Regions from separate parts of the Homo sapiens genome. Here all the other regions are linked to region 2. Evidence: promoter capture Hi-C in 16 types of primary human blood cells and fetal thymus (Javierre and others, 2016). All regions are on one chromosome and are shown on one strand. The core of a region is centred on a gene start or on the middle of the fragment in contact, and the rest is flanking DNA. Distances in the headings are between cores, read along the strand shown.

Region 1 (3,548 bases), core at 128-2,627, 180 kb before region 2:
ATAAAATAATCTGTGTAACAAACCCCCATGACACAAATTTACCTATATAACAAACCTGCACATGTACCCCTGAACCTAAAATAAAAGTTAAAAAAATGTCAGGTACTAAAATCTAAAAAATACGAAACCACAATATAGATATAACAAGCATAGAATAAAAACCCTCATGTTTTTCCTTCAAAATCAAACAACTATGATGGTTAAAAACAAGTGAAAGCAGTGATAATTTTAGAACCAGTGTTTTTTCAGACAACCCCGAGTTCTGATGGCCCTCCCATCTCTGGGTAACAGAGGCCATTCCCAAACGGAACCACCTGAATTAATACACAGAATACAAGCTTAACATTGGAAGGAAAGCAATGGTTTGGGGGCAAGAAAATAGATTCTTGTGTCATCCCCTGCCCCCAACTCATAGTCTATATGGATTTGTAAAAGAAAGACTGTCTCATTTCCAGATCTATGCAGTCAGTTTAACTACTATTTAACTAGGTTTTTAAACATGTATGATGAATTCTAGTGGGAAGACAGGTTATTAGATTTTGGAACAAACAGCGAGAGAGAGGAGAGCCAGTATAGCCAGTGTTAGGTGGAGAATGGGCTGGAAGGTGTTGCGAGTTCTCTCTTTTTAGCTCCTTGGTACAACACACTAGGCCCCTAATTTATTAAATTGAATAATTCACCTTGACTAGAGACTAGAGAGTAGAGAAAACAGGATATGATTTTTAAACAAAAAATTCAGGCTCATGGTCTGGTAGTTCCAGTGGGCTGCCTAGGCCAGTGATTATAATCTGCCGTGGCAGCCTCAATGATGTTGAAAACACACAATGTTTTCAGTGGGAACGGACTTCCTGAGAATGGGTGTGACCACATCAAGGCACTAAGCCACTGACTTTGAGAGGGCTTCCACTTGTGCATGGAGTGTGGGCATTGCGCTGGCACACACAGGCTATGCCTGGAGCGTGACGGGAGGGGGACCTGGTGGACGGGAGAGTTGCCAGGGCCAGATGGCCCAGCAACCCATCAGTCATGGCCAGGTGCTCAGGTTTTATCTGAACATACCTGGAGGACCAAAGAAAGATGTTGAGCAGAGAATGAAAAGTCTGATAAAGTTAAAAAATATGCACTTTGGGAGGCCGAGGCGGGCAGATCATGAGGTCAGGAGTTCGAGACCAGCCTGGCCAACATAGTGAAACCCTGTCTCAACTAGAGATACAAAAAATTAGCTGGGCATGGTGGTGTGCGCCTGTAATCCCAGCTACTCAGGAGGCTGAGGCAGGAGAATCACTTGAACCCGGGAGGTGGAGGTTGCAGTGAGCCGAGACTGCACCACTGCACTCCAGCCTGGGTGACAGGGCAAGACTCTGTCTCAAAAAAAAAAAAAAAAAAGTTAAAAAATATATGTGGCCTCTGTCTGGAGCATAGATGAGGGGGAGCAAGTGGGAAGAGGGGAGACCAGCAGGAGACCGGGCTGTGCCTGGAGTGGGAGGGGCGGGCTGCTTGAGGACAAAATAAATGGCTTGGGGCAGGACCCTGCAGTTCCCTCGTGGAGAGGAGATACATTCTGAAAATGGCTGTAAATAACAATGCATCAGCAGACCTTTATTTCCTTATCTGTTCCATTAATTGAGGTGGCTCAGCTCACAGGTGCACACCAAACTTCACTTATTCATGGACACAAATCTCTGCCTTTGTATCATAAATCTTACATTTTAACAGAAGAGATAAAGACTCAGGAAATTTAAAAATGTGTATGTATTTGGAAAATCAGAAAGTTAATAATGCTATAGGAAAAAGAAAAAATACTAAGTAAAAAAGGACGATATCCCAAATAATTTTGCTTTTGTAATACTGACTAGATTATTCTTGGAAATTCATTTCAATAGTGTTCTCCTCAAATACACATTTCTAGAGAGGTGAGGCGACTCCTCCCTTGCTCCTGTCGCTGTAGATGGCTGGGGTAACTTATTTTCCTCAGTGAAGGGGTAGGTTCATGGGTTCCAGCCTTTCAGTAAGTTGCTGGGTGAAATTCAAGGACCAAGTGCGGTAATTCAGCAGAAAATGCCTGGCACAGCGGTCAGAGACAATGTGTCAGCAACACTTTCTCAACATGGGAGGCCCCTGTAGGCTCAGGACAGGGCAGGGACCTAGGGCCGGGTGAGGAGAGCGGCCCTCGTGAGGATGGGTACAGGCCAGTGCTGGGCAACACTGGGATTCAGAAGAGGAAACAGAGAATCCCCAGGGCCGGACCAGATGGTCCTCCCGAGAGCGAGAAGCAAGGGTCATCTCCCTTTCTTCTTTTATCCCTGCAGACATCCTCAGTGTGTGTTTGTCAAGCCGTTCTCTCTGACACATAAGGGCCAGGGTAGTTCATCTTAAGCCTCATTTCTCTACCGGAACTATTCCCCATTAAGCTTCTTCTGCCACCTCCCTCTGGTTCACTTCAAATTCATGGCAACATTAATGGTTTGGTTAACGTTAAAGTTTGGTTGGACTTTGCAGGGAGAGCCGTTTCCTAAGCTCTTTCCCTCCCATACCCCCCACCCTGCCAGACGAGCTCATTGCAATCTCCAGTGACTTTTGGACGGCAGCTGGACTCGATTTCCTCTGCCGTGTTTTCTCAGTACAATAGATAGACAGCAATGATTACATTATCATTAGTCATTATCTCGAAAGAAAATACTTGCATGTCAGAGGATATAATGTAAATTAACTAACAATAAAAGCCAGCTTGGCCTCAGTACAAACTCATTAGCATCAGGATTATGACTCACCGTAGCTCCAGACATCACTCTGGTGGGTATAGATTCTGTGTAAAATTGATTCCAATGCCATCCACTTGATAGGCACCTTGGGATGGTGAGAGATGAGGCAGTGAGACAACTATTAGTTTCCCTCTGTTGGAAAAAGTTAACTCACTCTGGACCTAATTACGAGTGACACACACAGACGAGCCAGATCACCCCAGGACCCGTCCCCCAGGCCCGGCGCCTCCTCCCGGCAACAGGGGATTTCAGTCTGACGGAGTTCAGGGCTGCTCTGGTAGGTTTCTGAGCACCCTCTGTGTCCCAGGCTGCTCTGGTGAGCTGGGAGCCCTGGTTGTGCCCAGTGGCCTCACTCATCCAGGTCTGCGTGTGTTTTCAGGGCCCAGCATCATGGGTTGGTGGCTGCTAGGAGCCAAGCAGGCCAGAGTGAAACCTCAGAGGGGCCTGGCTGTGGGAGGGCATTCGAGGGCCTGACAGGGGACGCGCACCCCTTAGTGCTGTGAGGGTCCCTAAGAGAAACCGAGCCAGTGAAGGGAGAGAAGGACTCCATTGCTGCCTGTCCCAGCCACGAGCCACAGACAGCCCTGGGAGCTCGGGTCCGCATGGGGCCTTTCCTGTTCCTTAGGTGTCCTTGACAGCAGTGGACCACCAAGGCAGCTGTGACCTTTCCCAATTGCGCTATTGAAGGGGACTTATATATCCTGCAGGGAGAGACTGAAACCTAACATTTGCTAATGATCACCTGGGGATAACATCCTCATTCACTGTCCCAGCAAGTACTGTTCC
Region 2 (3,529 bases), core at 53-2,552:
TGCAGGTGGAGCAGACCCGGACGTCTCCGCGAGGCGGCCATCGAAGGAGAGCCTGGGGCTTTCGGCGCGGGCGCCCAGGAGGGAGCTGGGGTCCCCGGGAGGTGGGGGGCACTCTTGGATAGGCAAGACGAGGGCGCACCGGGCGAGGCGAGCGGCCGGGGTCTGCGCCCAAGGGGCGGGTCGGACCCCACCTGCCTTTTGCCAACGAGGAAACTAACCGCCGCCAGCACCACCCCTCCCCGGGAGCCGCAGGTGGTGGTAGACGAGTTCTCCCAGCTCCCAGGTCGAGGCTGCGACTCCACACTGGGGAACGAGGATCGCGGGGACCTGGAGAGGGGCCGGGGCCAGGCTGGCGGGCGCCGGCTTCAGTTTGAGACCTGCGCGGAGGGCGGAGGCGGGGAGGTCCTCTCAGAAAGCCGCCTGTCCCGCGGGGTCCGAGGGGAGGCTGTATTTTTGGGTTCCTTCCTCAGCTTCCCTAAACAGTGCAGTCTCGGCGGGTGGGCAGCGCCCGCCCCTCGGGTGCGCGCCAGGACCCCGTCGCGCCCTGGGAAGACAGCGCGGGGCGCACGTGCGGGACCCCGGCCCCAGGCGCCCACCAGCACCCGGCTTTCGCCCACTGACGCCGATCCTGCGCAGCTGGGCGGGGAAAGTGAGGGAAGAAAGTTGGGAGCGGTTCGGGGCGCCGGAGGTCCCGGCGGCCGTTCCCCGCCTGGCCTGCAGCCCGGTGTCCCACGCGTCTCCTCCTCCGCCCGCCCCAGACTCTCCCGGCCGAAGAACGAAACGTCCCGTTCCTCCCGCGGTCCCGGTCGGCGGCGCAGCTGATCTCAAGGAAACAGGAAAGGACGGGCGGGGGCGCGGGCGCCGAGCCGGTGCGCCGGTGCGCGGTTGGGCGGGCTGCGGGGTCCGGGGCGCGATCCGGGGGCGGCGCGGGAGCCGGCGAGACACGCCCTTACCTTTCTTTTCCTCCAGAGCCCGACTCGCCGGGCAGAGCGCAGCCAGCAGCGCCAGGAGCGCTGCCCCGGCCGTCCCGGAGGGTCGCATCGCTGCTCCCCGAAGAGCTCGCTCCGGCTCTCCCGATCAATACTGGACGGAGTCAGGGGGCCGTGCGCGGTGGTTGTGGCGTTGGCGGCGAGGCGGGGACTCGGGCGGACGCCGACGAGGTGGCCTGTCGTCCGGTCTGGGCGGCGGCGGCCGCCGGGGCTAGCTCGGGACTCCGGCCGCCTCGGCCGCGTCGGGCGCTCACACCGTGCGGGGGGCGGAGGCTGCTGCGGCCGCGCTGCGCCGGGGGCTGCCCGGACGTCTAGCTCGCGCGGGCCGAGGCGCGGGGAGGCAGGGCGGGAGGAGGAGGGACCAGGCGGCGGAGGAGGGATCGGGAGGAGCAGAGGAGGAGGAGAATGCGAGGAGGAGGGAGGAGAACCAGCAGCGGGGACCCAAGGCCAGCGGCCGCCGGAGGCGGTGGACAGCGGTGGCCCCCGCGGGACCTAGTCTCCGGCGGGAGTGGGGCGGCGCATGGGAGGGGAGCGGGTGCCCTGAGGAGTTAATTTCCGAGAGGGGCGTTCCCAGCACTGCCCCTCTGGACCCGGTCCCCGCGGACTTGCAGGCCCAGCCTATGTCCAGGTCGAGCCAAATCTGTGCCAGGGTCCCCTTCCCCCTTTCCCTTCTTTTGTTTTACAAAGCAAACTTGTACCAGCTTTAGACAGACTGGCCGAGCCTTAGAGCCAGCGTCGGATAATGGCACCGACGGGGAAACTGCTCCTTTATTCGGGTCCCCACCTCCCCTGCAGCACTACGGGACCCTCTCGGGGATCAGAGGCTGGCCTGGCAGCTGAGGAGGTCGCCGTGCCCGCGCGGCAGGGGTGCCAGGCGTCCGAGGTGGTGCTCTAAAGTCCGAGGGTCCTTCAGATCTTGTCAAGCACCCTCGAAATCATCTGAAATGAGGGCACCCAACTCCGGGTGCAGAGACAGGCCTCCTTAATGTTTATTGCAACCAGCCATGGGTACTTTGAAGCCAATGTGTGAAGCACATTACTTCGCAAAAGTGAAGCTCTTGGAATAAAGGCTTGACACAAACAGCCGTGGAGGTGCTTTTAGAGAGGCTAAGTGTCCCACTGCCCCTGTAGCTCCCGCAGGAGAAATGCCAGGGAAACTCGCGGAAGCTTTGGCCAAAAGAAACTGAGCTTTTTTGGGCTGCAGGAACTTGAGCTATATTCCTTTGGCAAGTCCACCCCATCCCCACTGTTCCTTCTCCTGCAGTAAAAATGTCCTCTAGGTCCATGTTACAGCCAGACCCCTCCTCTCTTCACGAGATTCACTAGGACCTTCAGGCCTGGTTCAACAACCCTGATCTCTCGGCTCTGTCAAAAATCACAATCCTGAAGTAAGTGAAGCTACAGACCTGCCCTTTGCTGTCTCTGAAGGGGAGCAACCTTACATCTTTCCTCCTCATCCAGCAAAATGTTTGTGCCTGGGTCTCGCACCCTGCAGCCTGAACGGTGGGGTTTTTCACCAGGGCAAGCGCAGACAGACACAGGTCTGCTCACTGCCCGCACAACCTGGAACTTCCCTGTGAATTAGGAGAAGTAATCTGTTCCTTTGTTTTAACAAATCAGTACAGCCACTGTGCGTTGAAGTCATGCCCTGAATGCAGAGGCCATGAAGGCTCTGCAGGCATGTGTGTGCTTCCTGCACACCTGGGCTGAGAGCAGTCCGTAGAAACACAGAAAACAAAACTAGAGAAAGGCAAATGGGAAGCACAACAGTGGAACATAAAATGAAGACAGGAGTGAGTCTTACAATAAAAGACCTGAATACAATAAAGTCCTGTGCATTCACTTAACAAGGGCTGCAAATTTGGTTTTAAACTATATTTTCTGTCAAGGGAATGTGACCTGTGTGTACAAGTCACAACACAAATCAATTTAAGCTACAACTGATTTGTAAGACTGTACAGGAATTTCTTTGAGTGCCCAAAAAGACAGCATGTAAGAACATCAGTTCTCACTACGTTAGGACTATATGAGACAACAGCCTTCATAGTACGGCTTGTATATTCTTCAATGTGATCTGATAGCATCACAAGAAACAGAGCTTTTTGTAAAGAATTACTAGACACACACATAGCACAATACTGGGATGGATTCCAGGGAACAGAGAAGAATGGGTTTGCTGAACATCTTCATGGGACATCTATGTAAAGTTTGAGTTTCTCCTTTGAGCTTTTGATACAAAAGCTGACATTCACGTTGATTTTGTAGTCCTTGGCTAGTACCTGGAGTGTGCTGATAACTGTGTTACTTGGTAAGTAAAAAACTGTATGGCCGAGCAGGCACTAATGAAGTCCTCTTAAGAGAGATAAGTAGCCTGGCATAGTTAGGGCCCTGCACAGTTAGGGCTCTAGCTCACAGCCTCTGTGGAGGGTGGTCCTAGACCATGGCCCGGACAGAGGCTGGGTGTGTGTGCCACCACCACAGGAATGACAATAGTGGCCCAGTTGCTGTGTTAAGCATTGGTCAGACTAAGCTTATCTGAT
Region 3 (3,840 bases), core at 66-2,565, 250 kb before region 2:
TGAGCCAATGGGTAAACACGCCTAATGGCTTCTTTTGAGAAAAGTCTGTTCAGATCCTTTGCTTGTTTTTAGATCAGGTTACGTGTTTTCTTGCTATTGATTTGTGTTCCTTGTATATTTTGGATGTTAACCCCTTATCAGCTGTATGGTTTGCAAATATTTTCCTCCCATTTCACAGGTTGTCTCTTCGCTCTGTTGTTTGTTTCCTTTGCTATGCGGAAGCTTTTTAGTTGGATGCAATCCCATTTGTCTATGTTTGCTTTTGTTGCTTGTGCTTTTGCCATCATATCAAAAAAGTCATTGTCCAGACTGATGTCAAGAAGCTTTTTCCTATGTTTTCTTCTAAGACTTTTACAGTTTCAAGTATTGCATTTAAGACTTTAATTCATTTTGAGTTTATTTTTGTATTTGGTGTGACATAAGGGTCTAATTTCATTCTTCTGCATGTGGACATCCAGTTTTCCCAACAGCATTTATTGAAGAGACAGTTCTTTTCCCATTGTGTGTTCTGGACACATTTGTTGAAGATCAATCAGCTGTGAATGCATGGATTTTCTTCTGGACTCTCTGCTCTGTTCCATTGGTCTGTATTTCTTTCTTTTTTTTCCTTTTGTTTTGAGACGGAGTCTTGCTCTGTTGCCCAGGCTGGAGTGCAGTGCGTCACTGGAGTGCATCTCTGCTCACTGCAACAACCTGTTGAACTGCAACAGGTTCAAGCGATTCTCCTGCCTCAGCCTCCCAGGTAGCTGGGATTACAGGCGCCTGCCACAGCCTGGCTAATTTTTGTATTTTTAGTAAAGGCGGGGTTTTGCTATGTTGGCCAGGCTGGTCTCAAACTCCTGACCTCAAGCGATCCACCCGCCTCGGCCTTCCAAAGTGCTGGGATTACAGGTGTGGGCCACCTTGCCTGGCCAATTAGTCTATATCTCTGTTTTTAAGTGACCATCATGTTGTTTCGATTTCCAAAGCTTTGTAGTATATTTTGAAATCAGGTATATGTTTCTAGCTCTGTTATTTTTGCTCAAGATTATTTTGGCTATTTAGCATCTTTTATTATCTTTTATTTAGCTCCATGCAAATTTTAGGATTATCTATTTCTTTGAAAAATGCAATTTGAATTTTGATAGGAATTGTATTGTAAATCACCTTGGATACTACATTTTGACAATGCTAATTCTAACAATTCATGAACATGAAATACCTCCCCACTGATTTGTGTTTTCTTTCATTTCTCTCACCAGTGTTTTATAGTCTTTAGTGTACAGCTCTTTCACCTCCTTCCTTGGTGAAATTTTTCTTAAGTATTTTATTTTTTGGTAGCTATTGTAAATGGGATTTTTTTTCTTGCTTTCTTTTTAGACAGTTTGTGATTGGTATTAGAAACCTTACTAAATTTTGTATGTTGATTTTGTATCCTGTAACTTTACTGAACTTGTTTATTAGTTCTAACAATTTTTTTTGGTGGAGTAGTTAGGATTTTCTGTATATAAGATCATGACATCAAATGGAGAAAATTTTACTCCTTCATTTCTGATTTGAATGCCTTTTATTTATTCATTTATTTAGCCTAATTATTCTGGCTAGGACATCCAGTGCTATATGGAACAGAAGTGGTGAGAGTGGGTTTCCTTGTTTGCTCCTGATCTAAGAGAAAAAGCTTTCAGCTTTTCACCCTTGAGTATGATGTTAGTTGTGGGTTTCCCATATATGGTTTTTATTATATTGAGATGCGTTCCTTCTATATCTAATTTGCTGAGCATTTTTTATCATGAAAAGATATTGAGCCAGGCACGGTGGCTCACACCTGTAATCCCAAGGTGGATGGATCACTTGAGTTCAGGAGTTCGAGACCAGCCTGGCCAACATGGTAAAACCCCGTCTATTCTAAAAATACAAAAATTAGCCAAATGTGGTGGCACATTCCTGTAATCCCAGCTACTAGGGAGGCTGAGGCAAGAGAATCGCTTCAACCTGGGAGATGGAGGTTGCAGTGAACCGAGATTGCGCCACTGCACTCTAGCCTGGCTAACAGAGCAAGACTCCATTTCAAGAAAAAAAAAAAAAAGAAAACATACTGAATTTTGTCAAATATTTTCTCTGTATCTATAGAGATAATCATGTACTTTTTATCCCTTATTCTATTAATGTGGTGTGTGACATTTATTGATCTGTGTATGTTGAACCATCTTTGCATCCCTGGGGTGAAACTCACTTGATCATGGTACATGTGTGTACTATAAAATTCTGTTTGCTAGCATTTTGTTGAGGGTTTTTGCATCTATGTTCATCAGGAATATTGGCCTGTAATTTTCTTTTCTTATAGTGTCCTTGGGTGGCCTTGGTATTGGGGTAATGCTGGGCTTGTAAAATTAGTTTAGATGTATTCTGTCTTCTTCGGTTTTTTTGGAATAGTTGGAGAAGGATTGGTGTTAATTTTTCTTTAACTGTTTGGTATAATTCACCCATGAAGCCATCTGGTTTAGGGCTTTTCTTTGATGGAAGGGTTTTGATTACTGATTCAATTTTCTGACTTATCATTAGTCTGTTAAGATTTCTCTGTTTCTTCATGATTTAGTCTTGGTAGGCTGTTACATTTCTAGCAGTGGGTCCATTTCTTCTAAGTTATCCAATTTGTTGAAGTACAGTTTTTAATAGCAGTCTCTTACAATCTTTTTTATTTCTGTGGTATGCATTGTAATGTCTCCTTTCTCATTTATAATTTTATTTATTTGAGTCTTTTCTCTTTTTTCTTAGTTAGCCTAAGGGTTTGTCAATTTTATGTTTTCAAAAAAGTAACTCTTATTTTAATTGATCTTTTCTATTGTTGTTCTAGTCTTTATTTCACTAATTTCTGTTCTGATCTTTGTTATTTTTTCCTTCTGCCAAGTTTGGACTTAGTTTTTTCTTCTTTTCCTAGTTTCTTGGGATGCAACCTTAGGTTGTTTATTTGAGATTTTTCTTTTCTGATGTAGACATTCATTGCTACAAACATCTGTCTTAGAACTGTTTTTTGCTGCGTCCCATAAATTTTGGTTATGTTGTGTTTTCATTTTCCTTTGTCTCAAAATATTTTTAATTTCCCTTTAAATTTTGTATTTGACCCATTGATTGTTCAGGGGTGTGTTTAATTTCCATCTATTAATGAATGTTCTGGTTTTCCATTTGTTCTTGATTTTTACTCTCATACCATTATGGTCAGAAAAGATACTTAATATGATTTCTGTCTTCTTAAATTTGTTAAGACTTGTTTTGTGGCCTGACATACAATCTTTACTGGAGAATGTTACATGTACACCTGAAAAAAATGTATATTTTGCTGTTGTTGGATAGAATGCTTGTGTATGTTGGTTAGATTTATTTGGTCCATGGTGTTGTTCAAGTCAAGTGTTTCCTTATTGATTTTCTGTCTGAATGGTCTGTCCATTGTTGAAAGTGAGTTGTTGAAGTCTTTTACTATTATTGTATTACTGGGTATTTATTCCTGCAGTTCTATTAATATTTGCTTTATATACTCAGGTGGTCCAATGTTGGGTGCAGATTTATAATTGTTATAGTATCTTAATAAATCGATGACTTTATCATTATATGAGAAACTTCTTTGTCTCTTATGACAGTTTTGAACTTAAAGTATATTTTGTCTAAATATAGCCACTCTACTCTCTTTTGGTCACCTTTTGCATGTAATATCTTTTTCCATTTTTTTACTTTTCACCTCTGTGTGTTTTTAAAGCTAAACCAAAATCTCTTATAGGCAGTATATTGTTAGATCTTGTTTTTTTTTTTTTTTTTTTTTACTCATTCGGTATTCCACATCTTTTAATTAGAGATTTTAATTCATTT
Region 4 (3,706 bases), core at 449-2,948, 220 kb after region 2:
TACAGAAAACGTAAAGCCTATTGCATAAATTGGAAAGCCTGTTTATGTTGTGATATATTGTTACATTCAAATTATATAGGGAGTTCGCTGGAAACGTTCATTGCTGAGACCACTTTGTTTCTGAAGAGACCATGTGTGTCCGGAGCTGGTTCCTGCTGGTGGGTTCATGGTCTCACTGACTTCAAAGAATGAAGCCGCAGACCTTCATGGTGAGTGTTACAGCTCTTAAAGATGGCACAGACCCAAGAACTGAGGGGTAGCAAGGTTTACTGTGAAGAACGAAAGGACAAAGCTTCTGCAACGTGGAAGCGTACCTGAGCAGGTTGCTGCTGCTGGCTGGGATGGCCAGCTTTTATTCCTTTATTATGCCCACCCATGTCCCGTTTCTGTCCTATCAGAGTGCCCTTTTTTCAATCCTCCCCACAATTGGCTACGTTTAGAATCCTGCTGATTCGTGCATTTGACAGAGCGCCAATTGGTGTGTTTTACAGAGCACTGATTAGTGTTTTACAGAGTGCTGATTGGTGCGTTTTACAATCCTCTTGTAAGACAGGAAAGTTCCCCAAGTCCCCACTGGACCCAGGAAGTCCAGCTGGCCTCACCTCTCACATGGACCTTGGCAAACCCTCAGTTGGGCGTAAGAGAGGCGATGGGTGTCTCAGGTTGGGCTCCACACCCAGGGTTATCCTGGAGGCAGCTCCTGGGGGCTCAGAGCACCAATTGTTAAATGCACAGCAATTCTATGAGGAAGCTGCTAAACTGTTTATAGCTTGAAATCAGCTATGGCAGGAATCTTTACACAACAAAAGTCAGCAAATGCCGCAAATCAGGGTTGTTGTTGTTTAAATTCAGAAAGCTTATTTACACCACTATGCCACCTTCCAGGCAGAAGAGTGTAAAAGGTGGAGAATTATTACAGGGTGATTGCACTGCTCAGAGGGGTAAGAGACGCTATCCAGAATGCAACAGCATACTGTACCAGGAACATTTTTACAAGCTGCCTGGTAACATGTTTCGGTCTCTGAATTTGGTTGGATTATTAAAGATTCACATCCTGCATGTTTTTATAATTATTATTTCAAATTACAGTAATAATTTCAGCCTAAGAATTAGCTAGCCAACGTTTGGTCTCCTGTATGTCAGAAAACCTTTCCATGACTGGTTACCATGCTTTCAAAGAACATCTAGTGGAGAGGCAGCAAAAAAAAGCAGGCCAGGAAATTGCTCACATGTATTAGAAGAGAAACTTGTCAGCAACCTTGTTGGAAGTCCTAGTCATCTTCCAACTAGTTCTGACTCAGCAAGCCGCTCAGGAGTGCACCCACCAAATGCAGGGGAAGGCCCAGGTAGGTAGTGAGGGAAGGTGCCAGCCTAGCGGGTAGCTCCTCAGCTTAGATTTGAATCAGTGAAAAACAGAAATATGCTCTCCTGACTCAGTCATACTGTGCTAAGGTAACAACCCAAGCGGCTAAGGAGCAAAGTGTGATTTTTCATGGAGAGAAAATATTGACACAAGAGCACGTGTAGGAATTTTCCATTTATCTCACAAATTATCCTGATCTAATTGACTCGGGCATCAAAAAGCCAGTGCTCTGAAGAAAGTTGCAGTCGATAACATAAGGGAGTGAATGAGATAGATTTGCAGACGTCAGAATGTCAAGAAGAATGCCAGGCCTGAAGACCCAGAAGAAGATGTACAATAATTATCTAAACAAGAGAGATGCATCTGAGACTTAGTGAGGGGCACAGGGTCCTTGAATTACGATCCAAGGGCAAATCCAAGAAGGGTTAACGTCGTCATTCAAGTAACTTTATTCCAGGCAGAAATTTCTACATACCAAGAAATGTCTGAGAGAATGGTCCAAACTTACTCGGGGTTGAGGGGGGCGGGGGCGGGTGGGGAAAGTAGTTGTTTTGTTTAGGTGCAAAGGAAAGACAGAGTAATAAACTGAAGCAAAACGTACAAGTGCAGGTGTGAACGAAAGGACTGGAGAAGACCCAGCCTGGAGCATGGCCCCGTGCCAGCCAGGAGCTGCTTGGGTCGGCGTTGCACTGCGTCTGATGAAGAATCTGACTTTGACTGCAAGTGCTGCCTCTTACCATAACCTTCCCTAACGCTGGCCTCTGATGGTTCTGATCTTTGCTGCCAGAGCTGCGCTGAGTTTTCTCTCTCTGCTTTTTAGATTTCCTTGAATATTTTAAAGAAAAAGTTAAAAAAAATAAGATGCTATATCCTGTTCTGAAACATTTTCAGGAAGTCCACTACAAATTGCATTTGTAAAGAAATAATAAGTGTATTCAAAGGACTAGGCATGGTTTTATATTCAGCCCACAGCCTAGCAGAGCCAATAAAACCAAAGTCAAGTCCCAGTTTCAGGTGGAGACCTCTCAAGTCATGACATCCCTTTTAATGATCTTAGGTTTATTTATATACAGGAGGTGGATGGAAAAATGGGGTTTTGTGGATATTACTATTTTTGTTCCATGAGGAAACAGTTTTATATATTCCTTGACTACCAAACAACTGGGCTAAAAGCTTGAAATTAGCAATCCTTGTCATAAAGACAGAAGGATACTACGCTGAAATGGAGGAGAGTTAGTATTTCATTAATTCAACAATTATGGAGCAACTGTTTTGAAACAGTCACACTGTCAGATATTAGAATATGTAAATCAATTAGACATATTTACCACTCTCGAGGGACTGAGGGACTGCTGAGGAAGACATGTGGAAAGGTTGTTACAATCCAGGTCAGTGAGATTTCATGTGAGTAATGCAGGTAATGATCACATGAAATGCGGAGTTACCGAATGCACATGAAGTTCTCATGTCGGAAGGCTAGCTTACTGATGTTCAGTGTCAGCTAGTCATCAGATGTGGAGAAAATCAACTGTGTACTAAGTCTAATTCATTCAGATGAAACATAATAGGAACTCTTTTTTTGTTTGTTTTTGTTTTTTGAGACAGAGTCTCGCTCTGTCGCCCAGGCTGGAGTGCAGTGGCGCGATCTCGGCCCACTACAACCTCCGCCTCCTGGATTCAAGCGATTCTCCTGTCTCAGCCTCCTGAGTAGCTGGGATTACAGGCACGCACCACCACACCTGGCTAATTTTTGTATTTTTAGTAGAGACGGGCTTTCACCATGTTGGTCAGGCTGGTCTTGATCTGCTGACCTTATGATCCGCCTACCTCAGCCTCCCAAAGTGCTGGGATTACAGGCGTGAGACACTGCACCCAGCAAAAGGAACTCTTAAAAGTTCATTAACAAAAAGCATCATGGAAATGCAGAGGGGAACCTCATGTGGTCTATAGAATTCGGAAGGGTGTCCTGAGGAAAATGATATTTTTGTTGTCAAAATAGGATTTGGCCAGAGAGGGAGGATAAAAAATTGTAAGGTGTTCAGAAATGGCACAGTGAGTGTGGGGACTATGGGCAGTTCGGTGTTGCTGGATCATGACGTGCAAGGCACAGCTGGCAATGGCAGACTGGAGAGGGAGGACCCTGTGTGTGCTGGTAGCATACTTGGATTTTTTTTTTTTTTTTTGAGATGGAGTTTCACTCTTGTTGCCCAGGCTGGAGTGCGATGGTGTGCGATCTTGGCTCACTGCAACCTCTGCCTCCAAGGTTCAAGTGATTCTCCTGACTCAGTCTCCCGAGTAGCTGGGATTACAGGTACATGCCACCACGCCCAGCTAATTTTGTAT
Region 5 (3,438 bases), core at 832-3,331, 250 kb after region 2:
TACAGATTTGTGGGCCGGGCGCAGTGGCTCACGCCTATAATCCCAGCACTTTGGGAGGCTGAAGCGGGCGGATCATGAGGTCAGGAGATTGAGACCATCCTGGCTAGCACGGTGAAACCCTGTCTCTACTAAAAAAAATACAAAAAGTTAGCCGTGCGTGGTAGCGGGCGCCTGTAGTCCCAGCTCCCTGGGAGGCTGAGGCAGGAGAATGGGGTGAACCCGAGAGGTGGAGCTTGCAGTGAGCCGAGATCGCGCCACTGCACTTCAGCCTGGGTGACTGAGTGAGACTCCGTCTCAAAAAAAAAAAAAAAAAATTATAGATTTATTACCTCAAAAATGTTTGCCTACATTGAGATCACAAAAATTTTCTCCTACATTTTTCCTAGAAGTTTTATAGTTTTACTTTTTGCATTTTCATCCATGATCTTTTTCATGTTAACTTTTGTGTATCATATGTTGGAAATACTAAAGTTTTTTTTTTTTTCCATACAGATATATAATTGTACCAGCATCAGCTCTGTTCCTGTTCTTAGCTCCTGTTCTTAGAGAAAATAAGTTCAGTCTTTTGCCATTAGGTATGATGTTAGCTGCACATTTTTAAAAGTGCCCTCTATAAGCTTGAGAGTTTCTTTTTATTCCTGCTTTGATGAAAGTTTTTGTAATAAATGTGGCTAAATTTTGTCAAGTGCACTTTTTCTTCTAGTCCTAAGGGAGAAAAAAACATTTTCCCCTCCTATTAATGTGAGGAGTTGCCTTGGTTTTTCAAATATTAAGACAACCTGGCACTTCTAAGAAATGTTCCACCTGATTGTAATATATTGTCCTTTTTATACATAGATGGATTCTATTTGTTAATATCTTGTTAAAGATTTTTGCATCTAGATTCATGAAGAATATTGGTGTAAAGTTTTCTGTATTTGTCTGGTTTTGGTATCAGCATGATGCTGGCTTCAAAAATTGAGTTGGAAAGGGTTCTTTTTATATTCTGAGAGAGGTTATGTTTTATTACAATTACTATTGCTTTTTTAAATGTTTGATAAAATTCACCAGTGAAGACATTTGGGCCTGGGAGTTTTGCTGTAAGAAGGAAATTATGAATTCAATTTCTTTAATACATATAGAGCTATTCAGATTTTCTAGCAACAATTTTTGTTGTACACTTTTTTCATTGATTCTAAGTTATCAAATTTAATGGCATAAATTTGTTTGTACTGTTATTACCCATTTAATGTTTGTAGGACTGGTAGCACTGTCTTTTCTTTCATCCCTAATATTGGAAATTTCTATTTTTTTTCTGATCAGTTTAGCAATAGATTTATCGAGATTGATTTTTTGAAGAATCCTTTTAGTTGTATTGATTTATCTCTGTTGTCTGTTTCTAGGGGTAGCGAATTTTTCTGTAAATAACTAATACATATTTTAGGTTTGCTGGCCATATGATTTGTAAGGCAGCACTAGACAACAATAAGTAAATGAATGAGTGGGACTATTTTCAAATGCAAATATTCACAAAAACAGTGTGAAGCCATATTTTTGCCTGAAAAGTTGTGATTTGCTGACCCTTGTTTTATTAAAAGTCTATCTTTACTTTTTGCTTCTTTCTACTTACTTTGGTGTTAATATTCTCATTTTTTCTAGCTTTCTGATGAAGAAAGTATAATTCCTTGGTTTTGAAGAACATTCCCAATGGATATGGAATTTGAGGTTCATACTCCCTCCTCTCACTCCCCACCCCAACTAGTGGTTTAAAGAGGTGATTCTGCCCTTAATTGCTTCCTATGATATATCTGCTCTTGGTTTTATCTTTAGTCCTCTGTATATATGTGTACTTTTTAAAATTTGGCTTTTTAAGATTATCTTTTTCTACTATGTCTTTTATTTAGGTTTTTTGAGCTTATTGGATACGTCAGTTTATAATTAGTCAAATTTGGAAAATTTTGTATTCATTGATGTCACATTGGCACCTTGAAATCAGCCAGAGTGGGAATATTTACATCATGAAAATTGGCCAATGCTATGGATTGAGGCTTTTTTCTCCATAAAGGTATTTGTTAAAATTTGCCAATATATTTCTGCCCACAGTTCACCAATGTTGGGCTCATTTTCAATCTCCTTTTCTCTCTGTGCTTCTACTATCATAGTTTCTATTGCTGTGTTCAAATTTACTGATCTTTTCTTCTGAAGTTCTCATTGGATGTTACACCTATAGTGGATATTTTTCATTCTAGATATGTTTTTCAGCTCTAGAAGTTCTGTTTGGTTCTTGTTAAAACATTTTCTATTGATTTTTTCATTATGTTTAATTTTCTTTAAATCCTTGGGCTTATTTTTACAAATGATTTTTAAAGTCACTCACTTAAGTCTTTCCTCTCTGCTATCTCTGCATCTGCCTCTGTTGACTGATTTTTCTCCTGGTTACAAGTCTACATTTTTCTGCTTTCTTGCATGTTTTGTAATTTTCAGTGGATGTCAAACATAATTTTTAATTTCAAGTGTGTAGCTTTAATTTTTTCCTTCCTTTTTTTGTATAAATCTTTACACTATGGCAAATTTAGCCCTGTTACTAAGATGCCACCCTCCTGAGGTTTCCACTAAATGTCCCATACAGTCAAGGAGGACTCTCCACCTGGCTGGTTAGAACTCATAGTCTCCCAGCCCTTGTGTCCTCTGCGAATTGTTCATCTTACAGCTCCTGGTCATTGTTAGCCCAGCCTCATGGTGTTGCATCTTACATAGGCACTATTGGTTTTCCTCAATAGATGCAATGGGAGCTCTTTGCAGATTTCTAGAGCTCTTTTTCCATTTAGCACCCTCCTCTATGCTAGTATGCCCTAGAAATTCCACCCATCTCTATCTTCCTGGTCAGTAATAATTACCATTCTCTGCATATAATCTTTTCCCCTTACCTTGTGGCTTTGGTTTGAAAACTGCCTTTCAAGCAGAATTCTGAGGGGGTAGACTCACTTTATTTTTTTACCCTCCCCTTATGAATCATAGTCTTGTATTTCCTGTTTCCCAGTGTCTGAAAGAGTTGTTTCCCATATTTTGTCCAGTTTTCTCATTTTTGGTATTGGGAGTGCAGGTCTTGCTCCAGTTTCTCCGCCATGGCTAGAACCTGAAGTCCTTGTATACTCCAGACCCAACCAATTATCTTCTCTTCCTTCATCGAGGATCTCCCAACCCCTTGGACAGAGCTGTTTTCTGTTTGTTTTTGTTTTTTAACAGAGAGACAGGGCCTTGCTCTGTCACCCAGGCTAGAATCATAGTTCACTATAGCCTTCAACTCCTGGGCCCGAGAGATCCTCCCACTTCAACCTCCTCAGTAGCTAGGACACAGGAGCATGTCACCATGCCCTGCTAGGTTTTATTTTTATTTGTAGAGACAGGGTCTCACTATGTTGCCCAGGCTGGTCTCAAACTCCTGGCCTCAATTGATCC
Region 6 (3,496 bases), core at 751-3,250, 200 kb before region 2:
CAAAAATATTCACATACATTTTACCCAATACTTTGACAGTTTACCAGGTTGCAGGAGCTCAGCCTGGTGGTCACCAGTTGCCAGAATCCTCCTCTGTCAGGTGAGGGTAGGGTTATCTCTGCCCAGGGCTCCTCGCCAAATTTCGTGTGTGTGTGTCTGTGTGTGCGCAGGTGCATGTGTGCACATCTGCGGGTGTAAAGGTTTCTTTTGGAGCACTGGCCTAGGTATTTCCGCAGTGCTAAACACCTGACTTGGCACAGAGTAGGCCAGTAAATGTGTGCTGCGGTGGGCTAAGCGTCTTCAGCGCATGCTGGCATAAGACTGTGGGTCTGATCGCTCTCAGGGAGCCCTGGGTCCTGGTCTACCCCAGAGCTGACTGGTTTTAGTTTGGGGTTGGTGTCCAGGCAGTGTGGTAGCTGATCTCCAGGAAATATCCAGCTGTGGAGGCATTGGTCCCCAGCAAGGTTGACCTGACTTTTCCCTATTGAATTTCTTAGGAAGGTAAAACACTGATGTAGTAGATCTATGCTACTGTGTCCAAAATAGCAGTGTAATATTGCACTTTAAATGTTTCTTCATCTGTAAAGTGGAAATAATAATTTCTGTCTTAGATGTACACTCAGGACAGTGTCTTGTCTATATTAAAACTCTCCCTCTCTCTCTATATAATCACTTATTATTTCCTTAGTTGTAATTCTTTCACTGTTCAATTAGAACTTTACTAAATTATTATATGTCTTTCTTTTGGTTAAGGTAGTAGATGAAGTTTGAAATCATCTTTTATTCTGGAATGCTAGTGGGCCTTTCTCAACTAAGGTCCCAGGAGAGAACTAAGCCCTACAAAAAACAAATAGGTGACCGTTGTCTCTATTCCCCCAAGGATGATGCATAACTAGCACAATTCTAGAAGGGTAGGAGAGAAGGTATTAATTATTTTCAGTAGATTCCTGCATGCATCAGGGATAAATTCTCTTGTGGGACTGAGAACACCCAACACCCTGCTGCTTCAACTCCCTTTTAAAAGCACATTGCAGAGTTGCCAATTAGCCTCTCCCTCTCCCTCTCCCTCTCCCTCTCCCTCTCCCTCTCCCTCTCCCTCTCCCTCTCCCTCTCCCTCTCCCTCTCCCTCTCCCTCTCCCTCTCCCTCTCCCTCTCCCTCTCCCTCTCCCTCTCCCTCTCCCTCCCCCTCCCCCTCCCCCTCCCTCTCCGTCTCCGTCTCCGTCTCCCTCTCCCCACGGTCTCCCTCTCATGCGGAGCCGAAGCTGGACTGTACTGCTGCCATCTCGGCTCACTGCAACCTCCCTGCCTGATTCTCCTGCCTCAGCCTGCCGAGTGCCTGCGATTGCAGGCACGCGCCGCCACGCCTGACTGGTTTTGGTGGAGACGGGGTTTCGCTGTGTTGGCCGGGCCGGTCTCCAGCCCCTAACCGCGAGTGATCCGCCAACCTCGGCCTCCCGAGGTGCCGGGATTGCAGACGGAGTCTCGTTCACTCAGTGCTCAATGGTGCCCAGGCTGGAGTGCAGTGGCGTGATCTCGGCTCACTACAACCTCCACCTCCCAGCCGCCTGCCTTGGCCTCCCAAAGTGCCGAGATTGCAGCCTCTGCCCGGCCGCCACCCCGTCTGGGAAGTGAGGAGTGTCTCTGCCTGGCCGCCCATCGTCTGGGATGTGAGGAGCCCCTCTGCCCGGCCGCCCAGTCTGGGAAGTGAGGAGCGTCTCCGCCCGGCCGCCATCCCATCTAGGAAGTGAGGAGCGCCTCTTCCCAGCCGCCATCACATCTAGGAAGTGAGGAGCGTCTCTGCCCGGCCGCCCATCGTCTGAGATGTGGGGAGCGCCTCTGCCCCACCGCCCCATCTGGGATGTGAGGAGCGCCTCTGCCCGGCCGAGACCCCGTCTGGGAGGTGAGGAGCGTCTCTGCCCGGCCGCCCCGTCTGAGAAGTGAGGAGACCCTCTGCCTGGCAACCACCCCGTCTGAGAAGTGAGGAGCCCCCCCGCCCGGCAGCTGCCCCGTCTGAGAAGTGAGGAGCCTCTCCGCCCAGCAGCCACCCCATCTGGGAAGTGAGGAGCATCTCCGCCCGGCAGCCACCCCGTCCGGGAGGGAGGTGAGGGGGGGTCAGCCCCCCGCCCGGCCAGCCGCCCCAACCGGGAGGGAGGTGGGGGGTCAGCCCCCCGCCCGGCCAGCCGTGCCATCCGGGAGGGAGGTGGGGGGGTCAGCCCCCCGCCCGGCCAGCCGCCCGGTCCGGGAGGTGAGGGGCGCCTCTGCCCGGCCGCCCCTACTGGGAAGTGAGGAGCCCCTCTGCCCGGCCAGCCGCCCCGTCCGGGAGGGAGGTGGGGGGGTCAGCCCTCCGCCCGGCCAGCCGCCCCGTCTGGGAGGTGAGGGGCGCCTCTGCCCGGCCGCCCCTACTGGGAAGTGAGGAGCCCCTCTGCCCGGCCAGCTGCCCCGTCCGCGAGGGAGGTGGGGGGGTCAGCCCCCCGCCCGGCCAGCCGCCCCGTCCGGGAGGGAGGTGGGGGGGGTCAGCCCCCCTGCCCGGCCAGCCGCCCCGTCCGGGAGGTGAGGGGCGCCTCTGCCCGGCCGCCCCTACTGGGAAGTGAGGAGCCCCTCTGCCCGGCCAGCCGCCCCGTCCGCGAGGGAGGTGGGGGGGTCAGCCCCCCGCCCGGCCAGCCGCCCCGTCCGGGAGGGAGGTGGGGGGGGTCAGCCCCCCTGCCCGGCCAGCCGCCCCGTCCGGGAGGTGAGGGGCGCCTCTGCCCGGCCGCCCCTACTGGGAAGTGAGGAGCCCCTCTGCCCGGCCACCACCCCGTCTGGGAGGTGTGCCCAACAGCTCATTGAGAACGGGCCAGGATGACAATGGCGGCTTTGTGGAATAGAAAGGCGGGAAAGGTGGGGAAAAGATTGAGAAATCGGATGGTTGCCGTGTCTGTGTAGAAAGAAGTAGACATGGGAGACTTTTCATTTTGTTCTGCACTAAGAAAAATTCCTCTGCCTTGGGATCCTGTTGATCTGTGACCTTACCCCCAACCCTGTGCTCTCTGAAACATGTGCTGTGTCCACTCAGGGTTAAATGGATTAAGGGCGGTGCAAGATGTGCTTTGTTAAACAGATGCTTGAAGGCAGCATGCTCGTTAAGAGTCATCACCAATCCCTAATCTCAAGTAATCAGGGACACAAACACTGCGGAAGGCCGCAGGGTCCTCTGCCTAGGAAAACCAGAGACCTTTGTTCACTTGTTTATCTGCTGACCTTCCCTCCACTATTGTCCCATGACCCTGCCAAATCCCCCTCTGTGAGAAACACCCAAGAATTATCAATAAAAAAATAAATTAAAAAAAAAAAAAAAAATAAAAGCACATTGCAACTCTTTCTGTTGCTGGTTCCTGTAAGCAATACATTTAAAAATATTATTTGTTTCTTAGGATTTAAAATGTGTTGTATTGAAACGTTGACCCATCATGGCTGAGACTTGGATCAGTATCTCACTTCAGGAAACAGGACTCAAGCT

What was found. Contacts are between HindIII fragments. The CHiCAGO score rates a contact against its expected background, and 5 or more counts as called.
Region 1: a contact is called between a fragment that was not itself captured here and the fragment with the promoter of EGFR in region 2, in 1 of 17 cell types (endothelial precursors). The highest score is 6.4, in endothelial precursors.
Region 3: a fragment that was not itself captured here is called in contact with the fragment with the promoter of EGFR in region 2 in 1 of 17 cell types (endothelial precursors); the score reaches 5.0 in endothelial precursors.
Region 4: a contact is called between a fragment that was not itself captured here and the fragment with the promoter of EGFR in region 2, in 1 of 17 cell types (endothelial precursors). The highest score is 6.9, in endothelial precursors.
Region 5: a fragment that was not itself captured here is called in contact with the fragment with the promoter of EGFR in region 2 in 1 of 17 cell types (endothelial precursors); the score reaches 5.2 in endothelial precursors.
Region 6: a contact is called between a fragment that was not itself captured here and the fragment with the promoter of EGFR in region 2, in 1 of 17 cell types (endothelial precursors). The highest score is 8.0, in endothelial precursors.

Annotation. Positions count from the first base shown.
Region 1 is chr7:55,192,065-55,195,612 of GRCh38, reverse strand. It overlaps EGFR (epidermal growth factor receptor), which reads right to left. Exons shown (of 28, transcript NM_005228.5): 22 at 2,772-2,847. Among named protein-coding and RNA genes, the nearest start is that of EGFR-AS1, 4.9 kb to the right of the region's middle. RefSeq lists an enhancer at 2,644-3,529. The HindIII fragment of the contact is 2,073 bases long and covers 341-2,413 here.
Region 2 is chr7:55,016,790-55,020,318 of GRCh38, reverse strand. It overlaps EGFR (epidermal growth factor receptor), which reads right to left and starts at 1,302. Exons shown (of 28, transcript NM_005228.5): 1 at 954-1,302. The coding sequence starts at 1,041. It overlaps LOC105375284 (a long non-coding RNA gene), which reads left to right and starts at 1,397. Exons shown (of 4, transcript XR_007060329.1): 1 at 1,397-3,529. RefSeq lists an enhancer at 1-302. The HindIII fragment of the contact is 3,906 bases long and covers 1-2,158 here.
Region 3 is chr7:55,262,380-55,266,219 of GRCh38, reverse strand. No RefSeq gene overlaps it. Among named protein-coding and RNA genes, the nearest start is that of ELDR, 8.7 kb to the right of the region's middle. The HindIII fragment of the contact is 689 bases long and covers 971-1,659 here.
Region 4 is chr7:54,800,636-54,804,341 of GRCh38, reverse strand. All of the region lies in intron 2 of SEC61G-DT (SEC61G divergent transcript), which reads right to left. Among named protein-coding and RNA genes, the nearest start is that of SEC61G-DT, 43 kb to the right of the region's middle. The HindIII fragment of the contact is 1,680 bases long and covers 859-2,538 here.
Region 5 is chr7:54,768,963-54,772,400 of GRCh38, reverse strand. All of the region lies in intron 1 of SEC61G-DT (SEC61G divergent transcript), which reads right to left. Among named protein-coding and RNA genes, the nearest start is that of SEC61G-DT, 11 kb to the right of the region's middle. The HindIII fragment of the contact is 2,924 bases long and covers 620-3,438 here.
Region 6 is chr7:55,218,906-55,222,401 of GRCh38, reverse strand. No RefSeq gene overlaps it. Among named protein-coding and RNA genes, the nearest start is that of EGFR-AS1, 32 kb to the right of the region's middle. The HindIII fragment of the contact is 5,489 bases long and covers 1-3,496 here.